Regions from separate parts of the Homo sapiens genome. Here all the other regions are linked to region 3. Evidence: promoter capture Hi-C in 16 types of primary human blood cells and fetal thymus (Javierre and others, 2016). All regions are on one chromosome and are shown on one strand. The core of a region is centred on a gene start or on the middle of the fragment in contact, and the rest is flanking DNA. Distances in the headings are between cores, read along the strand shown.

Evidence for each region. Contacts are between HindIII fragments. The CHiCAGO score rates a contact against its expected background, and 5 or more counts as called.
Region 1: a fragment that was not itself captured here is called in contact with the fragment with the promoter of RSPH3 in region 3 in 2 of 17 cell types (total CD8 T cells and naive CD8 T cells); the score reaches 6.0 in total CD8 T cells.
Region 2: a contact is called between a fragment that was not itself captured here and the fragment with the promoter of RSPH3 in region 3, in 1 of 17 cell types (total B cells). The highest score is 6.2, in total B cells.

Annotation. Positions count from the first base shown.
Region 1 is chr6:158,751,989-158,755,900 of GRCh38, reverse strand. It overlaps SYTL3 (synaptotagmin like 3), which reads right to left. Exons shown (of 18, transcript NM_001242394.2): 13 at 3,871-3,912. Among named protein-coding and RNA genes, the nearest start is that of MIR3918, 11 kb to the left of the region's middle. RefSeq lists an enhancer at 6-590. The HindIII fragment of the contact is 4,980 bases long and covers 1-3,912 here.
Region 2 is chr6:158,771,870-158,775,621 of GRCh38, reverse strand. All of the region lies in intron 8 of EZR (ezrin), which reads left to right. Among named protein-coding and RNA genes, the nearest start is that of MIR3918, 9.0 kb to the right of the region's middle. RefSeq lists an enhancer at 1,824-3,023. The HindIII fragment of the contact is 3,806 bases long and covers 76-3,752 here.
Region 3 is chr6:158,998,055-159,001,919 of GRCh38, reverse strand. RSPH3 (radial spoke head 3) reads left to right here and starts at 1,718. Exons shown (of 8, transcript NM_031924.8): 1 at 1,718-2,485. The coding sequence starts at 2,370. TAGAP-AS1 (TAGAP antisense RNA 1) reads right to left here and starts at 2,047. Exons shown (of 5, transcript NR_183546.1): 1 at 1,528-2,047. RefSeq lists enhancers at 1,410-1,459, 1,032-2,003, 1,870-2,029, 2,200-2,269, 2,300-2,349 and 2 more. The HindIII fragment of the contact is 7,152 bases long and covers 445-3,865 here.

The DNA of each region.
Region 1 (3,912 bases), core at 1,036-3,535, 250 kb after region 3:
TGCAGGCCAGATTCACGTGCACTGACTGTGTCCAGGCCCGAGTCTCGCTGCTGACCTCTGTGGCCCATGCTGCCCCCACTCCGGCGCTTGTTTGGGGTTTGAATGGTGACTCCTCGTGACACGGCTGTTGCTGTGAGGCTGGACACTTGCACCCATTTGCAGCAGCTGTGCGGTTTGTTTGCTTTGGGGTTCATCTCCTCATGCCCACCTTTACCCATCTTTCCAATCGAGGAACGAGATGGAATAAAACAGGAACTGAGACACGGTAATTTCCCTCCTTCAGCCTCTGCAAACAGAGGGGAGGCGCAGCAGGGCCGTCCCCTGCTCTGTTGGGGGCTGCCTGTAGGCTCTGTCCACACTTCTGATGTCTGCGGGCCAGGCACAAATGGCTTGGCTGGCCAGGTTAGCTTCCTCAGTTCATTCCTCCTTTTCCTCCCCGCTGGGGTGGCTTGTGGCCATGGAGATGGGCATTTCTTGGGTCACATTCCCTTTTCTCCTGCCTTTGGGTAACTTTTAGCCAGTTTTCCCTCAAGTCTATGGGTCCATATCTTTTTTGGGGGGACAGGATCTCACTCTGTCACCTAGACTGGAGTGCAGCAGTGCCATCTCAGCTCACTGCAGCCTGCACCTCCCAGGCTCAAGCGATCCTCCCACCTCAGCTTCCCAAGTAGTTGGGACTACAGGTAGGCGTCGCCATGCCCGGCTAATCTTTTAATTTCTTGTAGAGATGGGGTCTCTCTACATTGCCCAGGCTGGTCTCGAACTCCTGGGCTCAAGCCCTCCACCCGTCTCAGCCTCTCAAAGTTCTGGGATTACAAGCGTGAGCCTCCACACCCAGCCCATGGGTCCATTTCCGACTCTGCCCCACATTCAATCTCTGTCTATAAACTCTGGATTGATGTGATTATTCCCCATATTCCAGCTACACTCCTTATCAGTTAGTCCAGGCAGCTGGCCAGCTGCATCTGCTGCCCTCTGAGAAATGAAGCGGTTACTAGAACGCCACGCCACTTAGCAGGGTCGGGCTCGGGCCCCCAGGCAGCTCTCTCATCTCCAGCTGTGTGTGGGCGACGCTCAGCCACTTCTCCTGGGTCCTTACCCATTGCTCGCCCCTTTCTGTCAATAGGACTACTCCCTGCTACATACAGAATCTACCTTTGCTTTGTTTTGTTTTGTTTGTTGAGACGGAGTCTCGCTCTGTCGCCCAGGCTGGAGTGCAGTGGTGTGATCTCAGCTCACTGCAAGCTCCGCCTTCCAGGTTCACGCCATTCTCCTGCCTCAGCCTCCCGAGTAGCTGGGACTACAGGTGCCCGCCACTGTGCCCAGCTAATTTTTTGTATTTTTAGTAGAGACGGGGTTTCACCGTGTTAGCCAAGATGGTCTCGATCTCCTGACCTCATGATCCGCCTGCCTCGGCCTCCCAAAGTGCTGGGATTACAGGCGTGAGCCACCACACCCAGCCTAGAATCTACCTTTTCAAACCAGACCTATTTTCCATAGCCCTGTTAGGTCCACAAGGCTTGCTCCAGGCTCAGCTGGGAATGAGGTGTAAGGATCATTTGAGAGCAGGGCCAGGCAATGACCAATGTCACCCAGTGAGATCACTTCATCCTCTCCAGGCCCCCAGGACAGTGGTGTCAAATGGGGTACAAGTCTCCCTGGGTCCAGAAAGGCTTGCCAAGAAGTACTCTGCTCAGAAAAATTTGAGGATCAATTTCTAGATCCTCGCATTTGATGTGCACTTCTCTCAAAACTGGCTGGAGACAGTTCTCACAGCCTCATCCACCTGAATCGTACTCTGATGGCTCACCTCAGGTCGCACAAAGCCTGGGTGCTGCACAAAGGTGTGATTGTGATTGGAAATACTGGCTTCTAGCGAGACTTTTAATGCTGGATCGGCCTCCCCGGCTTCCCATCCTTCGCATCTTATGCATATTTCTATTAAGGATGAGGCTGGCCGGTGTTGGGTTATTTTGCATTTAGGATCAATTAGAGATGCCGATTATTTTAATTGTAACTGGAAAGTTTCCCAGGACTATAAAATATTCACAATATACTAGATAAGACCCATGGATAAAAATTTTAAGTGATATCTTTGAGATTCTGTGTACATTTTAAGGTAGGTAACCTTTTAACTCCAATTATATAACTACATTTTTTTTTTTTTTTTTGAGACGGAGTCTCGCTCTGTCACCCAGGCTGGAGTGTAGTGGCGCTATCTCGGCTCACTGCAAGCTCTGCCTCCCGGGTTCACGCCATTCTCCTGCCTCAGTCTCCCAAGTAGCTGGGACTACAGGCGCCCGCCACCACGCCCGGCTAATTTTTTGTATTTTTAGTAGAGACGGGGTTTCACCATGTTAGCCAGGATGGTCTCGATCTCCTGACCTCATGATCCACCCGCCTCAGCCTCCCAAGGTGCTGGGATTACAGGCGTGAGCCACCGCGCCCGGCCCAGAATCTGCATTTTAAAAAAATCCCCAGTTCTAAGTACAGGGGCATCTTAGAAAATAAGAAATTTAGGCCTGGCGTGGTGGCTCAAGCCTGTAATCTCAGCATTTGGGAGGCCGGGGTGGGCAGATTACCTGGGGTCAGGAGTTCAAGACCAGCCTGGTCAACATGGTGAAACCCCATCTGTACTAAAAACACAAAAAATTTGCTGGCCATCGTGGTGGGTACCTTTAATCCCAGCTACTCAGGAGGCTGAGGCAGGAGAATCGCTTGAACCTGGGAGGTGGAGGTTGCAGTGAGCCAAGATCATGTCACTGCACTCCAGCCTGGGCGACCAAGAGTGAAACTCCATCTCAAAAAAAAAAAAAAAAAAAAGAAAAGAAGAAATGTTTTAAAAATGTAAATCCCCATGGGATTTTACGCACACAAATTTTGAGAACTGCCAGTCCTTTGTGGCTTTGAGCTGTATTTCTAAGGACTCTCTAGGTCTCAGTTTCCCCGTGGGTAAATGAGGATTCTAATAATTACCCCAGGCTGTATATAAAGCACTTGGCCACAGTAGGGACCCAGGAAACAAGGGCTATTATTATTTAATGAACTCAGGGCTCTGTGCCAGCTGCCCAGATGGCCCCTGGCTGGCAGCTCACAGACACCCCCTACTTGCCAAGAAAGGCAAACAAAGCCCTCTCCTGTCATAGGCATGAGACGAGGGGACCTCTGGCTGCCCAGCCCCGGCAGGGTAGCCTCTGCAGCTCTGGGCTACCCCCCTCACCCTGCACCAAGATTGGGGCCACCACAGCCAGCTCTCTGCAGATACCAGACCTCAGCTGCAGCCTTCCACCCGACATCAGAGCGCATGGCCCCATCTCTGCCCTCAACCATCAATCACATTTCCTAGTATCATAGAAAGTGAAAACCCAAACAATTCCTTTGTAAGATTTTTCATAAAAGGATTCATTTAAAAAAAATAAAATTAGAAGAAACCTGAGTTTGTCAGAAATACAATAAAGGGGCACTTTTACAAAGACAGTAACTCAGGAGTTTAATTTTCAGGGCACTCTGTCTGAGAGCACCTCTTTGACAGAAACATTCACTAAGACAAACTAATGTTTAAAATTATCCTGTGCCCCGGTGTTAGCCCGAGACAAAGAGGCAGCCAGGTTCTTTTTCACCATCTTCTCAGAAATCATTAATCAAAAGCCATTCCTGAGTCTGGCAGACTCTGCACTTTTCCTGTACAAAGGCTGACATTTATTTTCTACCAACTTAACACTGATTGACAGAGCTGCGAAGAAACATATAGGTGTCTGTATTATATCTAACTGAGTCAAGAGTTTGAAAGCACCATCCACTGGACTCTGCCCCAGGCGCTCCACCCGGGCTCGGGAGGACTCTGCACAGGAATATCTGTCCAGCAAGTACCTTCAAGGTCTCCTGAAAGGTCGGGTCCACGGTGTTCCTTTG
Region 2 (3,752 bases), core at 729-3,228, 230 kb after region 3:
TTTTACGAAAATTATAGATTGGAAAGGACTTTGTGTTCTCATGTAATTTTGGTTCCTTAGTTACAGTGTTAAGCTTGGAGAGGCAAACATGGGCTGTGGTCCATACCTTGGTTGTCTTGTTAACCCTTTTGGGACTGGGTACTGCTTAGCAATGGTAAATCCACTTAGAACAGTATGTGGTGTTATTGTCCTGTTACTTCTCCCCACATACAGGTTTGTCTAGCATAATTTAAAATCAGCAGGTCTTGACAATTTTGTGAAAGTATTTTCTTCTTTGTTAAAAACGTCTTGGCCAGGCTCAGTGGCTCACGCCTGTAATCCCAGGACCTTGGGAGGCTGAGATGGCCGAATCACGAGGTCAGGAGTTCGAGACCAGCCTGGCCAACACAGTGAAAACCCCATCTCTACTAAAAATACAAAAATTATCTGGGCGTGGTGGTGGGCGCCTGTAATCTCAGCTGCTCGGGAGGCTGAGGCAGGAGAATCGCTTGAACCCAGGAAGCAGAGGTTGCAGTGAGCTGAGATCGCCACTGCACTCAAGCCTGGGTGACAGAGCTAGACTCCGTCTCAAAAAAAAAAAAAAAAAAGGGCTCCTGCTGTTTGCAAACTCTTGGCTGCTACTCTGTGGGTAGTTGCACGGTTATTTAAAATTAAACGCGTATTGAATGCAGACTCTAAGGCTCCATGGCAGCAGTTCATATTATGCAACAGCATGAATGGAGGGTCATAGCGTCTTCATGTCACTTGGGTAGTAAGATTGGCACAGTTTAGAAGAGCAAGAAAATGCTGAAATCTCTTCATCAGTAGGCTACTACGTACTCTGTGACGCTACTGCCTTTTCAGAACACTTATTAAAAATTTGACTAGAGCAGCAGCTCTGGACTAGACTGTTTCAGAATGTTTGTGCGTGTGTGTGTGTGTGTGTGTGTGTGTGTGTGTGTGTGTGTGTTTGATGATAAGTCCATCTCTTGAAAAGCTGAAGAATATTTTCATAATAAGCCCCAAGCAGAAGCCATTGTAACGCATCTCGTGCATGTGCCTTTATTATAGAGTAGCCTCATGTGAAGCCATCTCGTAAGCAAAAGAAACATTCGCTGGTGGCACGCTGTCCCAGGCACTCTTCCAGGGCTGTGTGCACCATCAACAAGGCAAAGCTCCTACCCTGGTGAGCCTACATTTACGTGAAGGAAAGGGTTAAAAAGGCAACTGAGATGCTTCCTGGTAGTAAATTTAACAGTACAGCTGTGATTAAAAACTAAGCCGGATCAGAAGATGGGGGTGAGATTCCTTTAGGCAGGTTGGGCAGGAGCCACACTGAGGAGGCAGCATTTGCCTTGAGTGGGCACTGCTGGTTTGAGGAGGTGGAGTTCTGTCACCCCCACAGCACCCCAGGGCTGCTCGAGGCACTGCCCCACCTCAGTCTGTAAACTTTGGGCAGAAGAAGTTCAAGTTTTCGACATCGAACTTTCTTGTAAAAAAGAAGAGGCCCAAAGTTTGAGGCGGTGGGATTCCTTATCTTGTGTTGACTTTCACGGGTCATCTTCACCCCAGGCGGTTTCTGCTGTGAACTCACAAATGAGTCTTTGTCCAGTTCTCACCCAACAACTGGCGTCTCCTTTTTAAAAGCCAGCTTCTCTTCCCTGCCAAGGTGCATACAGCAGTTTGGGGCCACACTTTGGCTCTTTAGATGGGACCTTGTATACAGCTGACACGGCCTGCCCAGGTGACACTATGAGGGGCTGAGGCGGCTGCCTTTTCCCTTTCAAAAGGGCGTTTTGTTCCTGTGGCCTTGTGGAAAAGGCAGAAGGCTCTGAGGCATCTGAAATTTGGAGAAAGTAAGCAGCGTTTCCGCTCTGACTCCTCGGACGCTTCCCCCACGTGACCTTCCCAGGAGCCCCGCTGCCTTTTTGCCTCCCGCGGCTGCCTCCTGCCATCTCTGCGGCCAGATGAGCCTTGGGATTGGCCTCTTGTGGGAGAGTTTCCTGGCATCCTGGGGACTTGAAAAGGGGCTCTTTTACCTTCTCTCCTTCTGTATTTGTAGGGTCTTGGGTTTATTTTTCTTGAACTTTCCTTGTGCCTGGTTTGCATTTTTACCTTGCTGGTCCTCGGCCAGTTTAAAAACCCTGCTCCAGGTCTTGTCGTGTTGTGGTTCTGCATCAGGAAGCTGCATCCTGCATCAGGTTAGGGACTTGGATTTAGAAACATTTCAGTATGAGTCTTTGTTTTAACTTGAAGTGAGAAACCGGCTTCCTTCAAAGGCACTGGGAGAGATTTCCTGCCAGGCACCATCCTCCCTCACCCACTGGCAGTGGACTCCCCAAATTCTGGTTCCCGTTGCTGGCAGGACCTGTCTTCTGCAGGGAAAGGGAGAGAGGGAGACATTGTTATGTTAACCATTGAGGTTTTTCATTGATCCCCCCACCCATGCACCCCCACAACCCCATAAAGGGGAGTTGGTGCTAATCAGCGTTTTCTGAGTCAGGGCCTATTTGGTAGAGTCCTCCAAAGCTGTAATGCAGGATTGTTTCCTCTTGTGTAATAAGGGATAGGTGGGTCATAAAAATGCCGATTGCTCCCAGCTCCACAGACTCCTCCCTGGGAAACCCAATGACTTAACAGCAAGGGTGTGAAACCCCAAAGACAGCCCCACCCAGGAAGTTCATGGGCTCTCAGGGCTTGGCATCACCTCTCACCCTAGGATTTCTGGAACAGATGAAAAGACTGAAGCTAAATAGATTCTTCTCGGATGTGTTGATGAGCCCGCTCAGCCGGTTCCTCGTTAGGTCTCAGAAGTTGCTGTGGGATATATCGCACTGTTTTTTTGTTTTAGCCACCCTGTCCCTCTGTTCCAAATGGTCAGAAGCTGGATGCTGGGGGCCCTGAGGTTAAGAGGAAGCCAACAGAGTCACTGAAAAATAACTTTTCATGGGAGTTTCTAAACCATATTCTTCTGTCTTGTAAGCTAATCACAGCAGTAGCAAGGAGTTGGGACCAAGATTGTCAGCTGTGTCCCAAATGTTTCCAGTCATGGTCACGAGTTTCCCGAAGGCTGTGATTCTGCCTTGTTTTCCAGGAGGCTCCTCTGGTTGTGGTCTTGCAAGGCACTAGCAATTGGAGTGACCGCTGTGTGTGTCAGCCAGCTCTTCCTGCGCCGAGCACCTCCTGAACGTCACCGATAAGGCGGGGACGCCAGCATCTAATGGGACTGCTGGGAGGATTGAGTCCCATATCTGAAGTCCCTTGAGATACCGGCATCCCTGCCTTATGGTTGAAGGCACTGAGCCTGGTGAAGGGATGTGCTCAAGGCTGTGGAGCTCGCACGTGGCTGTCTGTGCTGCACGAGCTGGCAGTGCCTGGCAGGTACTGCACACCTCAAATACCCTGGGAAGATAAGAGATGAGTGAATGTGTGGCCCCTGCCCTTGGGAGCTGATGGCCTCATAGGAGTGAGATGCTGAAAGGAGTCACTGGAGTGAAGTGACAGTGCCACTGCGGCGAGTACCTGTAGCTGGTGTGGCAGGAGCAGGGCTGGATAGCTTTGAGGAGAGAGAACCGAGTGCACAGCGGAGGCTGGGCCCAGAGCTGGAAGGTCTCTGTGTGGGTTGGGCCCAGGCCCTGGAGCTCATCCTGGAGCTCCCAGGCTGGCAGTGATGGGTCGGGGTGGTGACCCAGTCAGTGTAGCAATAACAGTGTGGGAGGGGAGGCTGTGGCAGAGGAGACAGGAAGCCCAAATAGCAGCAGAGGCAGTCCAGG
Region 3 (3,865 bases), core at 469-2,968:
ACAAGACCATCCTGGCCAACATGGTGAAACCCCGCCTCTACTAAAAATACAGAAATTAGCTGGACGGGGTGGCACACGCCTGTAGTCCCAGCTACTCAGGAGGCTGAGGCAGGAGAACCACTTGAACCGGGGAGGCGGAGGTTGCAGTGAGCCAAGATCGCGCCACTGCACTCCAGCCTGGCCACAGAGCGAGACTCCATCTAAAAAAAAAAAAAAAGAAAGAAACTTGTACAAGAACCTATAGTGGCTATCAATTTCTTTATAAAGCCCACTGTGGCTGGTATAGCACTATTGTTTACCCACTTAATACCCACTCAATTCTGCCCCAACATCCTCCTAACAGAATTTGTTCTCCTCCTCCCTGGCCAAGTGTTTCTTGGAGGCCTAGAAAGACCGGTTACCTGGTCTAATCCAAATATGGTGGTCTTATATAGATCCTAAGCTTAAATCAATATGATGTAATTCTGGTCAGTTGGGAGTTTACGAGGGGGTTTTGCTCTTCCAATAAAGACAAAAGAGCAGATACTTCTATTACTACTTTGTTGAAGCCAACAACCCAGGTGACAGAGTGGAAAGGTAGGGGAAAAAACGTGTTGTTGATAATGTGCTGAGCCCCCAAGTTACCCTCCAGGTTAACCAACCTGGGGAGTGTAAAATAATGAATTCCTTATTATTTCAGCCACTTGGAATTGGTTTTTTGTTACTTGAGGGAAAAAATATTCTAATTAATATGCTAGTGTTTACTGTTTCCACGATGTGGTGTCAGCCTGTCTATATATATTTCTACAACTCATCTACACAAACCTTGCTTACAGTTTTCCAAATGCACCTTGGGCTTCTTGAGCCTTTGATCAAGCCATTCCGAATGCACTTCCCCCAAGAGGCTGGCCAGTTAAAATACTATCATTTATCAAACACAACTTAAATGTCACTTTCTCCTCTAGCCCTTTCAGAAATTACCTCAAAATTAAATGATCAGACCTAAAATATGTTGGGAGTGTTTTCACCTCTAGAATTTACCATACACCTTTATGCTAGTGTTACTTATAGAATGCCTACATCTGCTTTAGGTCATACACTTCAAAGCACAGAACGGTCCAGATCTTAATATAAAGGCTTGCCATTTACCAGGCACAGCTCTAAGTATTAACGGTTTTAATCCTCAAGACAAAACCTAAAGAGATAAATTCTTCTATTGCCACTTTGTGGATTAGGAAAATGAAGCACAAAAACATTTAACTTGCCTGAGGTTTCGGAGCTAGTACATTCTAGAACCTGGATTCAAATCAAGACAGCAATTAGCTGAATGAAGGTGTAACTGCAAATGCAAATAACTGATCACAAGGGATACACATTCACTCATACAAGATAGAAGATTTTTAACGTTGCTGGTACTAAAACCAAAGCGTCTGCGTTTTTAAGCGCAGCCCCACCCCGCAATACTAGAGACATTCTTTAGAGCTGGAAGCCTGATAGATTAAGGGGAACTATGCCTTTGTATTTTTTAAGACTCAATAAATTGCTCACTTCTTTCCCAAAATGAGGTGTCTGTGGGGGAGGCCCCTGTCGCTCCGTGTGCCAAGGGTCCTCCGATTGCTAGCACACAGCGGTGAGCAGAGAAGGTAGGTGAGGAACTGCACTGACTCAGCTGCAGAGGGCGGCGGCAGCCCGCCCCTGGGGCGGGAGAAGGGCAGGAGCCGGGAGACACCAGGAAGCTCTTCCCCGCCCGGGCACGTAACAGAGCTGGGAGCCTGGCTGCCAGGGGCGTGTTATCGCGGGGGCAGCCTGGGAGCGCTGCTGCGCCGCGGCAGGAGAAACAGCCGAGGACACCCTGGAAGAGCAGGAGCACGTGGGCCTGCGAGAATGGCGCCAACACCAGCCCTGCAAAGCCACATTCCAAAGCCGGGCCAAGGACAGCCACCGTTGCCCCGCAGGCCTCAAGGATGACGGTCAAGCCAGCCAAGGCCGCCTCCCTAGCCAGGAACCTCGCAAAGCGCAGGCGCACCTACCTGGGTGGCGCGGCTGGGCGGAGTCAAGAGCCGGAAGTCCCTTGTGCCGCAGTCCTTCCCGGGAAACCTGGGGACCGGAACTGCCCGGAGTTCCCGCCCCCAGACAGAACCCTGGGTTGCTGGGCAACCGATGCGGCCCCCGCAGCTGGTCTCTGTGGTGCTGGGAGCGAGCCCAGTATAGCTCCCACCTCCTGCGCTGGTAACCTCCCGTCCCGCCCGCCTCCCTTGTTGTCGCCTCTCCTCGCGTCGCGGAATCCTTGCCCTTGGCACTACTTACATCTCTCCGGGTCCCACAACACCTTAGCGCCCACCTGCTTCAAAGCCAAGCTCCACCGAAAGCGAGGCAGTCAGCCCCCGGACATGGCCTCAGCGCTGACTGATCGCACCTCTCGGGCCCCGAGCACCTACACCTACACCAGCCGGCCCCGAGCACTGCCCTGCCAGCGCAGCCGTTACCGGGACAGCCTGACGCAGCCGTGAGTGACCAAGCCAGCCCCTGTGTGGTCCATACTTGCACCCCATCCCCAGGCCGGGGTCTGGCCCCTTCGCCCTGGCAAAAAAGCTGCTTATGCTGTCTTCCCTTGGCTGCACTCTGCCGAAATAAAAGTTCTGCCCTAAGGAATCTCCCGTGGTGTGGAGGAGTGAAGCAGGAAGGGGCATGGGTTGGGCATCAGTTAACTTTTAGTGATATGAGTTGCTGCCGTGGTCCTTAACATGTACACGAATTGGCTCATTTCACAAAGTTTGAATTGTACCAGTGTGTATTGAGGGCCAACTACGTGCTGAGCACCTTACGGGGGGCATTCAAATACGTTTTCTTAGTTAATCCACAGTGCTGTGAAGTTGATTTTATAACTCCATTATGCAGATGAGGAGACCGCGGTGCAAAGATATCCAACAGTAGCATATCCAAAATGGGAGCCGAGTAAATCTCTTCGGCAGGCTTTGAGCAGGAGTAAGATTATTCTTCCATGCAGGACCACAGATTGGTTTTTTGTGGTGGTGGTGGTGGTGGTGGTGGTGGTTGCTGTTGTTGTTTTGAGACGGAGTTTCGCTCTTGTCGCCCAGGCTGGACTGCAATGACGCGATCTCCGCTCACTGCAACCTCCGCCCCCCTCCCCCACTCCTCCCCGATCAAACGATTCTCCTGCCTCAGCCTCCCAAGTAGCTGGGACTAGAGGCGCCCTCCACCACCCCCGGCTAATCTTTGTATTTTTAGTAGAGACAGGGTTTTGCCACGTTGGCCAGGCTGGTCTCAAACTCTTGGCCTCAAGTGATCCGCCCGCCTCGGCCTCCCAAAGTGCTGGGATTACAAGCGTGAGCCACCGCGCCCGGACGGCAGTTTGTGTTTTTACATCCATGAACAGTTGCAAATATTCAAACATACATAGGAAAGAAAAAAAACAAAACATAAGCCTTTTTTTTTTTCTTTTTTTTTTTTTGAGACGGAGTCTCGCTCTGTCGCCCAGGCTGGAGTGCAGTGGCACAATCTCGGCTCACTGCAACCTCCACCTCCCGGGTTCACGCCATTCTCCTGCCTCAGCCTCCCAAGTAGCTGGGACTACAGGCGCCCGCCACCACGCCCGGCTCTTTTTTTTTTTTTTTTTTTTTTTGTATTTTTTTAGTAGAGACGGGGTTTCACCATGTTAGCCAGGATACTCTCGATCTCCTGACCTCATGATCCGCCCGCCTCGGCCTCCCAAAATGCTGGGATTACAGGCCTGAGCCACCACACCCAGCAAAAAAAACATAAACTCTTAAAGTTCTCTTAAAGTTAAACGGTTCTCTAAAGTTCTTTCCATAAGCCTCAAATGTTGAATTCAGCAGAACTTTATAGGAATGCAAGCTCCATGGAT